Linked DNA regions of Homo sapiens: region 2 is linked to region 1. The links are contacts of gene promoters, found by promoter capture Hi-C in blood cells and fetal thymus (Javierre and others, 2016). All regions are on one chromosome and are shown on one strand. The core of a region is centred on a gene start or on the middle of the fragment in contact, and the rest is flanking DNA. Distances in the headings are between cores, read along the strand shown.

Region 1 (2,700 bases), core at 115-2,614:
CGTTCCGGGAGGGAACAGCCTGAGCAAAGGCATGGAGGACAGAACTGTAAAGGCAGTAAGGAAACCTCTGTGGCTGGATGAAGAGTATGGCTTGGGATAACCCTGTGGTTAGAAAGGCAGACTGGGGCCAGATCAGGGAGAGCCTTGAATGTCAACCCAACACATTTAAACTTAATCCTTAGGCAGTAGGGAGCCAATGAATGTTTTTGAACAAAGGTGGCAACCGAAGAAATAGTATTTTAGAAAGTTCCATTTGATATGGATTTACTGTAATTAGCCAGGATCGTGCCACTGCACTCCAGCCTGGGTGACAAGAGCAAAATTCTGTCTAAAACAAAACAAAACAATACCACAAAAGCATGTCCCCTATCAGTGAAAAAAGAAAAAGAGTTAAGGGTATACCTCCAATACAGACATATTCTTTTTTTTTTTTTTTTTTCTGAGATGTAGTCTTGCTCTTTTTGGCCAGGCTGGAGTGCATTGGCAAGATCTCGGCTCACTGCAACCTCCGCCTCCCAGGTTCAAGTGCTTCTCCTGCCTCAGCCTCCCCAGTAGCTGGGACTACAGGTGCCCACCACGATGCCCAGCTAATTTTTTATTTATTTATTTATTTATTTTGAGACGGAGTCTCACTCTGTTGCCCAGGCAGGAGTGCAGTGGCATGATTTCCGCTCACTGCAAGCTCCGCCTCCCAGGTACACGCCATTCTCCTGCCTCAGCCTCCTGAGTAGCTGGGACTACAGGTGCCTGCCGCCATGCCCGGCTAATTTTTGCATTTTTAGTAGAGATGAGGTTTCACCATGTTAGCCAGGATAGTCTCGATCTCCTGACCTTGTGATCCGTCTGCCTCGGCCTCCCAAAGTGCTGGGATTACAGGGGTGAGCCACCGCACCCGGCTAATTTTTGAATTTTTAGTAGAGACTGGGTTTCACTGTGCCGGCCAGGCTGGCCTCGAACTCCTGACCTCAAATGATCCACCTGTCTCAGCCTCCCAAAGTGCTGGGATTACAGGTGTAAACCACCGCACCTGGCTCTAGTTCTTATTTTTTGTGAGAAATAAAGATAAATACAGGATCCAGTCTAATGTTTTCTTCCACATCCCATTGACAAATGACTAATCGGCCCCTCTCACCCCAAGCTTCTGGGGGCTTCTCGGGGCAGGTGGAGCTGGTGGCCATCCTGCAGGCTGCTGGGGATCTGAGAAGAACTGGAGTTGAGATTCTTCCCCCAGTGGCCTGGGCCTAGCAGGGGAGGGTCGTGGGCTGTAGCACCTCCCACAGCGCGGCCAGGCCTCCACTCCTTGAGCAGGGGGAAGGGGGGTGAAGTTGAGCCGAGATTAGCAGGAGTCGGGAGGGAGGCTCCTAGACCTGCAGAGAAAGGGGTGCGATAGGCAAAGGCACCATGCCTCTGCGGGATGAAACCCTCCGAGAGGTGTGGGCCTCTGACAGGTCTGGAAGGCCCCCAGTTCGTGGCACCTGAACCCTGGGGGGCCTAGATGGAGGGATGGGGAGTGGGTGGGATGGGGAGGGAAGGGGAAGGGAGACAGGCTGATCCCTTTGCTACCCTCAGTGGGCATGAAGAAGAAAGCCTGAGCCCGGAGGCCCCGCGGCGCCCCAAACAGGTATGCCACCCCACTTGGAAAGGAAGCAGAAAGATGTCCCCGCTGTGCGTAAACCCACGCAGGGTAGGGGGTCTAGGGGTGGGACAGGTCCCCCTTAGCAGGGTCTGGGGGTTGCATGTCTGGAGATCTGGGGGGAGAAAGGGCTGTTTGGGGACTTGGGGTTTCCAGGGAAGGAATAGGGACTTTGGAGCATTGGATATGGCCACGATGCATGGAAGGGGTCATCCTGCCTCACTCCAAGAAGGGGGCTGCAGTTCCCCCCGGATAATCTGCGGTTATTTCTGGCGGCTCAAGGGATTAGAGGGGGATGGGCGGGCCTCAGCGCCCCCCTTTCCTTCCTCGACCTCCTCTTGACCCCCGTTCCGCAGCGACCCGCCCCGGCACAGAGGCTAAGGAAGAAGAGGACGGAGGCCCCCGAATCCCCCTGCCCCACGGGATCCAAGCCCCGGAAGCCCGGAGGTGGGCGGGGTGCAGAGCCCGGGTGGACCCCCAGGGTGTGGGCTGCGGAAGGGAGGGGCTTGAGGGCCGGCGCGGGTGTCGCCGAGCCCTGGAACGGGGTGGGGGAGGAGGGGGCGGGGAGTGATGAGAGGGGAGGGATTGGGGTTGGGGTTGGGGTTGGGGTTGGTGTAGAAGGGGGTGGCGTTGGGGTAGAAGGGGGTGGGAAGCTGAATGGAAGCCGGGGAGAAGTGTTGAAAGTGGAAACCCAAGCCCAGGGGAGATCCCTAGGGTGAGGAGCCCGAGGGGGTGCGCCCAGGCTTGGGGGTAGCGGGTAGAGGCGCTGCCTCGCGGACCCGCGGATGGGACCCTGTCTGAACCCCGCATCTCGGCTCAGCTGGGCGGACGGGGAGGCCGCGGGAGGAGCCTTCCCCAGACCCAGCCCAGGCCCGGGCGCCGCAGACGGTCTACGCCAGGTTCCTCAGGGACCCCGAGGCCAAGAAGCGCGACCCCCGGGAAACCTTTCTGGTAGCCCGTGCCCCAGACGCGGAGGACGGTGAGAGAGGGCCCCAGGGACGCGGGTGAGGGGGCGGTGGAGCTAAGGAGAGAAGGGGCTGGCTGGACGGGAACGGCCCAGAGAGGCA
Region 2 (2,981 bases), core at 71-2,570, 240 kb before region 1:
GAAAGAAAGAAGTAGGCAAGTCCTGATGTGGAGGACAGGGCAGTAGCAGTGGAAATGGGGGAACTAGGTGGATGTGGTGGGGAGGAGAATTTGAAAGTGATGCCCAACACCTTGTTGGTGACATGGGCACACATGGAGCTGGTCGAAAGGAAACGTCGGCATTTGACAAGTTCCACTGGGGTGGCTGCAGTGTATTCAGCAGCAAGAAGGAGCAGCCTCAGGCCTGAACTCAGGAGGGAAACAAGGGATGCTGATTCAGATCTGGTAGTGACTGCCCACTCATTCTGGGAGACAGTGACGGGGTTGGCCTCTCTATAGGCTCTGGCTCTTTCTCATCAGCCCATCCTCATCAAGAAACACCCTCCCTCTTCCACCTGAGTGATATGACCTTGGGCCAGGGATTAAGTGGGGACAGATTTCCTTTAAGTACTTCAGTCCTAAACTGGCCTCTAAAATCCAGAAGCATCAAGATCCTCCTCAGTTTCCATAGGTTTGGGCTTAGAATCCATGACCCACTCTTACGGGGCTTGGACCGAAGAATGTGAGGGCAAAAGAAAAGCTCAGTAGTAGGAGGTTCTAATCCTATTTCTGCCCTAGACCAGTCATGTGACCTTGAGCAAGTCACTTTTCCATTTTGGGTTTGTTTTCCTTTCAGGAAAATGCCAGGGTTGGTCCTGGACGAGACTAGTTTTCAAATCCTGCTTCTGAAGAACACCGGGAGCCCGTGGCTGGACCAGGTTCTTTGTCCTAGATCGAGCAGTCTCAGGCTGGGAATAGCTCCAACATTAGGTTTCTCTCCCGTAGCATTTTCTTAAACCGTTAGCAATCCTTACTGTTTCCCAGCAAGGATTCACAGATAAAACAGTGAATGAGGGCTGGGCGTGGTGGCTCACACCTGTAACCCTAGCACTTTGGGAGGCCAAGGTGGGGGGATCACGAGGTCAGGAGATCGAGACCATCCTGGCCAACATGGTGAAACCCCTTCTCTACTAAAAAATACAAAAAATTAGCTGGGTGTTGTGGCGCGCTCCTGTAGTCCCAGCTACTCGGGAGGCTGAGGCAGGAGAATTGCTTGAACCCGGGAGGCAGAGGATGCAGTGAGCTGAGATTGTACCACTGTACTCCAGCCTGGCGACAGAGCGAGACTCCGTCTCAAAAAAACAAAAAAAACAATGAAGGAACAACTGGGAAACGCAAATGAATGGGGAATTGGAAAATGGATGACCATATTTGGTTTGACAGTCTTCTTGTTTCTGGAAACTTCATGGTTATGGTGTTATATTACTCACACCATTGTTCTGGTTTCCAAAGCTAAGTTTCAATGACTTTTCAGCACGCTTCATAGAGGACTCTAGGACTCCCCAGTGCCCATAACCTGAAGAGACTGGAGAAATGCTGGAGGCAACACTCTCCAAGGACCTCCCCAGTGATGATCTTTTGTTTTCTCAGTGATGATTTCTTTTTTTTTTTGAGATGGAGTCTCGCACCTCTGTCTCTGAGGCTGGAGTGCAATAGCGTGATCTCAGCTCACCGCAACCTCTGCCTCCCGGGTTCAAGCAATTCTCCTGCCTCAGCTTCCCAAGTAGCTGGGATTACAGGTGCCCGCCACCACATCTGGCTAGTTTTGTATTTTTAGTAGAGACGGGGTTTCTCCGTGTTGGTCAGGCTGGTCTCGAACTCCCGACCTCGGGTGATCCTCCCGCCTCAGCCTCCCAAAGTGCTGGGATTACAGGCGTGAGCCACTCTGCCCGGCTTTCTCAGTGATGATTTCATAGCTCCTCAGAGCCCATCTTTGAGGAATGCATGCAGAACACTGTGGCTTACGTTCGTTAACTCATATAATCCCCCTTTCATTTTCCCAACAGCGTCATGAAATCAGTACTATTATTATATGCATTTTATAGATGAGGGGCCTGAAGCTCAAATAGGGTTAACTGCTCCCCTGAGGTCACACAGTAAGTGACAGAGCTGGGACTGGAAGCGAGCACTCTGATTCCAGAGCTCCCTTTCTGACCCAGTATGCCTGCAGATCTCTGTCATTCATGCTGTCACCAAGGATCAACAGTTCTTCCTTGGACACGTGGAAAGAATGATCTTCCTCATCCCCTTTGGCTAATGAGATGTGAGCAGAAGTGATGACATTTATCACTACCACATTCCCTGTCCTTCTGTAATAGTTGTAGAAACACAATGAGGAAGCCTCCCTCAACCTGGGTCTCTGTGTGAGGATGTTGTGGAGTAGAGGCCTGCCCTTCCACCCCCACCGCTGATCTGCAATGGGCATGCAGTGTAAACAAGAATTAACATTTGCCATGTTTTTTTTTTCTTGAGACGGAGTCTCGCTTTGTCGCCCAGGCTGGAGTGCAGTGGCGCAATCTCGGTTCACTGCAAGCTCCGCCTCCTGGGTTCACGCCATTCTCCTGCCTCAGCCTCCTGAGTAGCTGGGACTACAGGCGCCTGCTACCACGCCCGGCTAATTTTTTGTATTTTTAGTAGAGACGGGATTTCACCGTTTTAGCCAGGATGGTCTCGATCTCCTGACCTCGTGATCTGCCCGCCTCGGCCTCCCAAAGTGCTAGGATTACAGGCGTGAGCCACCGCGCCTGGCCCCCTTTGCCATGTTTAAGCCACTGAGGTGTGAGTGTTGTTACTGTGGGATAGCCTGGCCCATCCTAACTAATCTAATGCTATACTGCGTCCTGTTGATTATCTTTGGCTTCAATCCCCAAGCCTGCCTTCTTCCAACCCCCTGAAAGCAATGGCTCCACATTGATTTGAAAAGCAGCAAGAGCCAGCCTGGCCAACATGCCGAACCCCACCTCTACTAAAAATACAAAAATTAGCTGGGCGTGGTGGCGGGCGCCTGTAGTCCCAGCTACTCGGGAGGCTGAGGCAAGAGAATGGCGTGAACCAGGGAGGCGCAGGTTGCAGTGAGCCAAGATTGTGCCATTGCACTCCAGCCTAGGCAACAGAGCAAGACT

What was found. The method cuts DNA at HindIII sites, captures the fragments that hold promoters and counts their contacts. A CHiCAGO score of 5 or more calls a contact.
Region 2: a contact is called between a fragment that was not itself captured here and the fragment with the promoter of TULP1 in region 1, in 11 of 17 cell types (naive CD4 T cells, naive CD8 T cells, activated CD4 T cells and 8 more). The highest score is 7.5, in naive CD4 T cells.

The regions. Positions count from the first base shown.
Region 1 is chr6:35,511,560-35,514,259 of GRCh38, reverse strand. It overlaps TULP1 (TUB like protein 1), which reads left to right and starts at 1,364. Exons shown (of 15, transcript NM_003322.6): 1 at 1,364-1,448; 2 at 1,570-1,621; 3 at 1,990-2,080; 4 at 2,454-2,612. The coding sequence starts at 1,402. The HindIII fragment of the contact is 3,090 bases long and covers 1,141-2,700 here.
Region 2 is chr6:35,749,104-35,752,084 of GRCh38, reverse strand. No RefSeq gene overlaps it. Among named protein-coding and RNA genes, the nearest start is that of ARMC12, 14 kb to the right of the region's middle. The HindIII fragment of the contact is 5,130 bases long and covers 1-2,981 here.